2 separate regions of the Homo sapiens genome follow, and region 2 is linked to region 1. The links are contacts of gene promoters, found by promoter capture Hi-C in human tissues and cell types (Jung and others, 2019). All regions are on one chromosome and are shown on one strand. The core of a region is centred on a gene start or on the middle of the fragment in contact, and the rest is flanking DNA. Distances in the headings are between cores, read along the strand shown. Region 1 holds the start of APOD (apolipoprotein D). Region 2 has its middle 41 kb from the start of APOD.

Evidence for each region. The method cuts DNA at HindIII sites, captures the fragments that hold promoters and counts their contacts. A contact is called where the count stands out against the background at its distance.
Region 2: a fragment that was not itself captured here is called in contact with the fragment with the promoter of APOD in region 1 in 2 of the 25 tissues and cell types used here (bladder and psoas muscle).

What each region holds. Positions count from the first base shown.
Region 1 is chr3:195,581,829-195,586,231 of GRCh38, forward strand. APOD (apolipoprotein D) reads right to left here and starts at 2,112. Exons shown (of 5, transcript NM_001647.4): 1 at 2,050-2,112. RefSeq lists an enhancer at 1,563-1,732. The HindIII fragment of the contact is 4,834 bases long and covers 1,632-4,403 here.
Region 2 is chr3:195,622,716-195,627,118 of GRCh38, forward strand. No RefSeq gene overlaps it. Among named protein-coding and RNA genes, the nearest start is that of APOD, 41 kb to the left of the region's middle. RefSeq lists an enhancer at 1,260-2,256. The HindIII fragment of the contact is 8,411 bases long and covers 1-4,403 here.

The DNA.
Region 1 (4,403 bases), core at 862-3,361:
ACCCTCTTCCAAAGATGCCTCTTGGTTACATTAGTTTTATTCCTGTGGTTAAAACTCCTTGTGATGCCAGGTGCGGTGGCTCAAGCCTGTAATCCCATGGGAGGCCGAGGCAGGTGGAGCACCTGAGGTTGGGAGTTCAAGACCAGCCTGACCAACATGGAGAAACCCTATCTCTACTAAAAATAAAAAAATTAGCTGGGCATGGTGGTGCATGCCTGTAATCCCATGCTGCCTGTAATTACATGCATGCCTGTAATCGGGAGGCTGAGGCAGGAGAATTGCTTGAACCCGGGAGGTGGAGGTTGTGGTGAGCTGAGATTGCATCATTGCACTCCAGCCTGGGCAACAAGAGCAAAACTCCGTCTCAAAACAAGCAAACAAACAACAACAACAAAAAAACTCCTTGTGAGAGAAAGGGCGGACAGCATCCATTATAGTTTTCAATGTCCTTTCATTCTAATTTACTCATTACTTATTGAGCATGTTATTAATGTGTACTTAAGACTTTGGGTAACATATGGATTATATACGACATATATTTTTGCATCTTCTTCTGATATCAATAGGAAGATTGTTCTTATGAGGAGTTTAAATACTTTACAAAATAAGTATAATTTAAATATTATTTTTGGCCGGGCATGATGGCTAATGCCTGTAATCCCAACACTTTGGGAGGCCGAGGTGGGCAGATCACTTGAGGTTAGGAGTTTGAGACCAGCCTGGCCAACATGGCGAAACCCCGTCTCTACTAAAAATACAAAAAATTAGCCAGGTGTGGTGGCAAGTACCTGTAATCACAGCTACTCGGGAGGCTGATGCAGGATAATTGCTTGAACATGGGAGGCAGAGGTTGCAGTAAGCCAAGATCACACCATTGCACTCTAGCTTGGGCAACAGAGCAAAAACTCCATCTCAAAAAAACAAAACAAAAACAAACAAACAAAAAATACAAAAATTAGCTGGGCATGGTGGTGCAGTCCTGTAATCCCAGCTACTTGGGAGGCTGAGGCACAAGAATGGCTTGAACCTGGGAGGCGGAGGCTGTAGTGAGCCGAGATCGCGCCACTGCACTCCAGCCTGGGTGACAGAGTGAGACTCCGTCTCAAAAAAAAAAAAAAAGAAATATGATTTTTAACAGAATATGAGGTAATTAAAAAGCAATCCAACTAAGGTGACAGTGCATCCACCTTGGGCCTGGCACTAGCTGGAAATCACTGCTCCACTTGCATTAAGCTTACCCGTGGAGAAGCCCTGGTCCCAGGATTTTAAGGGTGCTATGCGCTCAGTCTCCACAGCACCTCCTCTGGAGGCGACCTCTGCTGACACTCTCTTCATACCAACGAGGTGAATTTGCCCGGGTTACTTCCTGGTAAACTACGAAGCCACAGTGTAAGCCTAGGCCTGGGGACAGGCTAGAATGTAAGCCTAGGTCTCCCACAAGCCCGCGCTCTTAGTGCCTGGGGACACAGCCCCTGACCTCAAAGATCTGCAGAACGTGAAGGACTAGATTTTGAAATTTCACCTCATAAAATAAAATAGGTTCCAATAAGTCATTAGGTCTCAAAGACTCATTTAGCCATTAAATATAACAAGACACGTATCTCCCAAACACAATATTTTATGCCATATTGTCAAATGCATTTTCTAGTCACACCATTAATTCCAGTTTCCAGATTATTTTACTGCGATGCACCGTTGGACAGCTTGCTGAGAATTCACCTAGGACGGTGTTTGTGCATGGAAACACCTCGTTGTCCAGTTTGGAGGGGTAAGCAAAAGACGCTGGGATGAGTTCACACTGGGTTTGGTTTTATCTTAGGCATGTTGCTAGTGTATCTGAACCTCAGCTTTATCACTGGAAAAATGGCTCTGATGATACCTACCTTGTACATTTGTTTGAGGAAAAATGAGAACAAGTCTAAAGCTACCGGCACAAGCTCTCAATCAGTGGTAGTTATATGTAGCTGAAATGGGGCAATGGAGAGTCTAGACTGTTTCTATTTTAGACATTATTATCATAAATGAAAAGCTTAAAACTACAGTACATACCTTTTCTTTCAAGATGAAGGCAGTTTCCAGATGCAGAATCAGCCGATTTGAGATGCCTGTCTTGGTGACTGGCCTCTCCCAAGCTATTTTATAAGCTTCTTCAGGTCTCTGATGTTTACTTTTCATGCATGCCACGCCCGCCGCCCCCATCCAGTCAGGAGGGTTGGCCTAAAAGCTTAGTCTGTATCGAAACACAAAGATGGGATGTTGTGTCCATCCTCCTCCCCCGATTTCCTTCACAGCTGCTCCCTGAAGAAGAAATGAGATATTGTTTTCGCGCGCGCGTGTGTGTGTGTGTGTGTGTGTGTGGGTATGTGTGCGAGAGAGAGAGAGAGTATGTGTGAGAGAAAGATAAAGTATATTTTCATCCAAAACATTTTTTTTTTTGCTATGTGGATTTTCTAATTTAATTTTTTTGGTCAGAATGCACTTTTAAGTTCCAGCAGGACGTGTTGCAACATGTTTTCAAACATCTGGTATTTATTTTTCATTTTTGTGTAAATGAAAAATCAACAAGCTCATTTCCTGAAGTGGAACATGGAGTTCCTGACTCCACTAATGGGAGTCAGGTAATGGCGCGAGGGTTATGAGTCAAAGCTGGCTTTCTCCAGGATCCTGGGCAGCCCCCTAACTTCTCTGAGCCACAGTCTCCTCGTTGTAAGTAGGGGCTGTCATTCTTTCTCCACCAGAGCCAGACGTGTAGGGGAGATACCAGTTCTCTAACAACTGGGGCTAAAAGTTGAGAATGCAGAAGACATCTTCTGTCGCTCTGTTCTCTGTCCCTTTTATGACCCTTGCAGCGAGAAGTTCAAGACAGTCTGTCACTGCTTGGGGGTGGGGGCCGGGGTGGTGGGGAGTGTGGACTTAAACCCAGGGGTGCTTTTGGTCCAGCCTTATCTCTCCTGGTGGAATGAACAACTTTGACTCTTGTGAGTGAGATTCTATGTCTTTGTGATAGGCAGGAGGTATGTTTAGAGACATTTAGATAAGGCAGTGCCTTCGTAGTAGACTTAGACTCCTAAATGAAATTCATTCTAAAATATGTAAGCAACAGAGATACATTTACAGCACTGAGTCTATAAACATGAAAACAACAACACAGATCCGTAACATCCCAAACGTTGTGAGCGCTTTCTTTAAGATGTTCTTTGCCTTTTCAGAAACATAAGAAATTCCTACTACCACCCAGGGCCTGCCTCTCGCTGACCTCCTGTGCTGCCCTCCCCTAAGAGCTCTGTGTAGCTCCCTTCCCCACTCCAGGTCCCTGATCAGATGACACTTTTCCCTAAAAAGCTTCCTGACCTTTCAAAAATAGCACTCTTGTCACTGTCCCTTTCCCTGCTTCATTATATCTTTACCTGAAATTCTCTCCTTTATTTATACATTATCCTGCTTAGTATGTTTTCCCCAGGAGGATAGGAGCTTGAGGCGTGCCAGGAGTTTGTCTCTTTGACTCTGTGTTGTGCCCCAGTGGCTAAGCACATACTAAGTGCTCAGTAAATACTTATAAATTAAATGGATGCTATCCAAAGAACTTAATGAGTTTCTAAGATATACAAAAGGCCCCAGAGGTAATATTCACGCGATTTTGATTTCAATTGTATTTCTGGAGAAGCACTAGCCTGTATGTTTCTGTCTTCTTCACCTGTATCACATTTGCCACCAAGAATTGCCTGTCATTGAAGAAATACACAGTTAGCCTCTTTTCAGCCTATTACAAAAAATTCTCTCTCCTCTAAGCAGTTGCACAGTTTTCCACAAAGCACTGTTGCCTAAGTTTCCAAATATGTATGTTGGAGTTGGAGATATCTATGTATTTTAGCCCTCAGCACTGAAGTCGGCAACCATGGAGCTGAAGGTCCAGGTCTAGGAGTCACAGCGGGAGAAAAGCCACACGATCTTCCTAGGTCTCAGTTCATTTTTTCTGTAAATATTGGTAAGTGATATATTCCTTAGGGAAATCCTCTCTTCACATGTTTCTGGAATGTATAGCCAGTAACAAATTCTTAAGCAGCATAAAACAAATCAGACCTATCTTCTAAGCAAGTGTTTATTTTTAAGTCCCAAAATAAATACACATTTGTTCAAAACAATTAAAATAGCACCAAAATGCAGGACTCAGGAAATGTAAGCACCTCATAATCCCACACCTCAGAGATAAGCATTATTTTGTTTGTAATTATTCCTCTAGATCTTTCTATACAGATCCCTATGTAATAATAACAATATTCAATGTTCTGAAACTTTTTTTTTTTTTTGAGACCGACCTTCACTCACTCTGTCACCCAGGCTGGAGTGCAGTGGTGCAATCTTGGTTCACTGCAACCTCAGCCTCCCTGGTTCAAGTGATTCTC
Region 2 (4,403 bases), core at 1,636-4,135, 42 kb after region 1:
GGAGTAGTTGCCTCTGTCCCTGGCCAGTCTCCAGTCTCCAGCTTCATATCCTCCCACTGGAGAGCAGAGACGATGGGGGTGTCCCTGTGTATGCTTAAGTGCAATGGCATTTTAAGAAAACTATTAGCAATTTTATGAAACTAAATTGCTGCTGTTTTATTAGCAGCCACAGTCAGCAAGGCCCTGGCTGGGTGCTTGCTCCGTGAAGCTGTATACGTGTGACTGCCTCAGCAGCGCTGGCTGCTCCTGCTCTTGAATCTAAAAAGCAGCTGGACAAAATGTTCACGTTTTCGCTCAAAACCAAACAAACAGAAAAACTCAATTAGCTTGTTTGTGTGGGCTGAAGCACCTCTGTTTGCCCGCCCCCCGCAGTGACCCCCATAGTGTCCCCGGAATGGACGGACTCACGGGCTGTCACATCGCGCACGTCTTCCCCGGAGAAGGGATGTGAATCTTGGTGGGGTGGGGGGCACTACCTGGCCCAGCACAGGGTGCAGGTGGGTGACCCGGGAGACTCTCCCCGCTCCAGACCTGTCATCATGTTGCCATCTGAGGCGGCACTCACAGGTTTGCGGGGCTGCACATCTTTGGGGGCCTCCACTCAGCCTGGCACAGTGTGTGCCCAGCAAGTAGACGACCGCATCCTCGCCAGCATACATGTGCTAGAAACTTCTGTCAGGAAACGCCGCTCTTCACAGCCAAGGGTGGAAACTACTGGATGCATTGCAGAGCTGACGCCCTCCCTCCGGCCTGGCTCCGAGCCATGCCTGGTGTGGTGGAGGGGTGGAGGCCACCCTCACCGGGCCCTGTGTGCTGCTCTGATGCCGCTGAGGGGGCCGGGGCCTGGGTGTGCCCTCAGCGCATCCACTGCAGAGGGGAGCCTGCGCCCACGTTTTGGCTCTGTGGGTAAAGGTGGCCACCCCCTGAGCTTGTAGAGGTGTGGGACACTTCCCGATGCTGCCTGCCATGATTTTACATGAAAAGCCAGGAAAAGGCACTGAGGAGCCACCTGACCCCACGGAATGCCATTTCCTGGGGTTGCTTGGCCAGAAGTCATTGACACAGCCCTGCCAGCCAGAAGCTGGGGCAGGGACGGGGTCCTGCCTTCTGGGACAGGTTCTGTGTGTGCGTGACCATGTCCCAGAGGTCTCTGCTCAGCCCTGGGGGCGGGTGGGGGTGGGGTTGGAGGGTGGATGGTGGGGGTGGGGCCAAGTTAGCCCGAGCGGTCTGTGAGGTGAGAAGGGCCGGGGTCTCTCCTCCTCTCCTCCGCACCCCACCCCGCCTTGCTCTGAATCTCTCCCTCTCTCTGTCTCTGTTGGTCTCTTTCCCTCTCTACTCCCCATTCTGGTGTCTTTGGAGCCCTGGGTAAGGTGTGTGCTGAGTCCGGTCTGGTTTGGGGTAGATGTTCTTTGATCTGTTACCACACCTGGAGGGAAAGCCCCTGGCCCGCCCCCCCTCCGTTCCTGCAGAGCCAGGCCCCCCAACCAGTCGGTGGGCAGGATGCCCACCAGTTGCCCCCATCTGGCCCAGGGGGACCTTTCCTCTGCTCTCCAGGGACCACTGCAGGTGGTGTGGCCCCTGAGGGGAGCATAAGGGTGCAGTGCCTGACTCAGGGGACACAGAAGCCCCGTCCATACGGCCTTTTACACAGCACAGCACCCAGCCCTCGGCAGCCCAGAGCAGGAACCAACAGGGTAGGTGCCCAGGGGCCCCAAAGGTCAGAGTTCCTCGCACAGCTGCCAGGGAGCACAGGGACCGCAGCACAGGGTCTTCTGCTCAGCACCGGGACCCCGCTCGCTGCAGCTAAAGAAACAGATACGTCCAAGGGCTCCACGGCCGGGGCCGGGCACCTGGAACAGGGTGGTCCTGGGGCGGCCACATCCACTCCTTCCAGGTGAGTTCCCGGTGACTCTCGGCCTGCAGTCGGCCTTGCTGAATTCTCTTAGGCCACCTGGCTGCCCCCTGCTACGCGTCCAGCTGTTGATCGCCCACTGACCTGTAGAAGACCTGGTCAGCCCCTCTGTCTTCCGTCACCCATGGAGGCGCCTGCAGGTGCTCCGCGCAGCCCGCCCGGCCCTGCACAGACCCGAGGCGGCACCAGGGGGCGCTGCCGGCCCGAGGACGCGGGCGCGGGGCGGAGGCTGCGGGGCAGGAGCCGCTGTGCGCGTTCAGGCAGCTGCCCGGGACCCCTGGCACCGACCGCAGCCCCCAGAGGCCCCCGGGGGGTTTCCGCCTGAGCCTAAACCGAAGACAGGGCATGTTTTCAGTCATCCCGACCCCACAGACTCAGCCCGTTAGTTCCCGCGCTGCCCGGCGCCCTAGTACCCAGAGCCGGTGGGGACTCCAGGCCACCAAAGGCAGGGGCGGGGCGGGCGGTTGAAGGAAGATTGGGACACGGAGAAGAGGGACAAGGCCTGGGGCCCGAGGGGTCAGGACGCTCTGCCAGCCTCACCACCCGCAACACCCAGGCACGGACGCACGCACACACTCCACACGTGTGAACACGCACGCATGGCTGCACACACGTGCACAGAGAGGCACAGCCCGCAGGAACACAGATGCACGCACACAGGCACAGGCACGCTCCCTCACTCACTCTCTCTCACACACCCCAGGTGCAGACACCCCCACCCAGAGGTTGCAGCTCGGATGGAGAAACAGGCTGGGTCACAAAAGCCCCGGGAGGCAGCCCCTGCTGTCTGGCGTCTTCTCTGGGGAAAGCTTTCCGGAGCCTGATGGAGGAAGACAGAGGAAAGAGACCTGTGTTCCCTGATGCACTGGCCAGCCGCTTCCCGGGGAGGAGGAGGCAGAAATACACAGTAACTGATTGTTGCCTTTGGTCTGTGAACTGTACTATGGAACACTGGAACTTACTCCTTCACCTGACTGCATGTTTGTGCCCCATAACCAGCCTCACTTTCTGTCTGCCTCTCACCCACACACCCTGCCTAGCCTCTGGGAACCACCAGCCAACTCTCTGCCTCTGTAAGAGCCACTCTTTCAGTGCCCACAAATGAGTGAGAACATGGTACATTTGTCTTTCTACCCCGGCTTACTTCCCTTAACATGACAGCCTTCAATTCCATCCATGTTGTTGTAAACGACATGATTTCATTCTTGTTTATGGCTGCGGAGTATTCCATTGCGTAAGATACCACGTGTTCTGTATCCATTCATCCATTGATAGGCACCCAGGTTGATTCCATTTGGCTTTTGAAAGTGTGTAGTTGGAGAATCCAATGTGCCCCCTCGGGTTTTCAAAATGTGGGCATCTTGAGTGCGGGAAAGGAAGTGCCTGCCGCTCCCCAGGGCACCCGGTGGCATCTGCAGAGGGGAGGCAGCCACAGCAGGCCTGCCGTGGTGACAGCAAATAGCCAGGCGGCCAGGGAGGCTCCTGCGGTGACAGCCCCGGGTCACAGGGTCAGAAGCAGCCCACCGGGGCCGGGGTGGCTTGCGTTAGTTTGGGAACATTTTAAGCCATTACCACTTTAAATACTGATTTTGCCTATTCTTTCTCTCCTTCCCAGAACTCCAGTTACTCACGTGTGGTGTCTTCTCATTGTGTCTGCTGTCTCTTCCCATCTCACTGGGGCAGTAGGGCTGCCATAAGCCAGCACCACAGACCAGGGGCTCCACAACCCTGGTGGCTGCAAGTTCAAGATCAACACAGGGACAGGGTTAGTCTAGTGAGGCCTCTCTTCCTGGCTTGTGGAGGGCCACCTGCTCCCTGTGTGCACAAGGCCTTTTCTCTGTGCACACGCATGTGCACGCGCACACACGTGCACACACATGCACACACGCGCACACACACGTGCACACACACGCACACATGCACACACACGCACGCAATCTGGTGTCTCTTCCTCTTCTCATAAGGACTCCAGTCCTATCGGATCAGGGCCCCACCCTGCTGGCTGCACTTCACCTTAATTACCTCCCTAATGTCTTCTCTCCAGACAGACTCTCCTTGGTGGGTGGGGCTTTGTGAGGGTTTGAATGTCCGTGTTCCCCGAAATTCATCTGTTGAAATCCTCACCCCCAAGGCGATGGTGTTAGGAGATGGGGCCTGTGGTAGGGACGGGGTCCTGAAGGTGGACCGCTGATCATGGGATCGGTGTCCTCATAAAAGAGGCCCCAGAGCGCCCCTCCCCCATCCCCCATGTGAGGACGCAGTGACACACCAGGGAAGCCGGTCCTCACCACACACGGAATCTGCCGGTACCTTGATCTGAGACTCCCCAGTCTTCAAAGCTGTGAGAAATGCATTGTTGTTTCTGAGCCCCCAGTCTATGGCATTTTGTTATGGCAGCCAGAACTAAGCCAGGCTTCCGCATGGGCATTCTGGGAGGACGCGGTTCAGTCCCTCACACTTGCTCTCTCTATTTTCCTCCTTATGCTTCTGT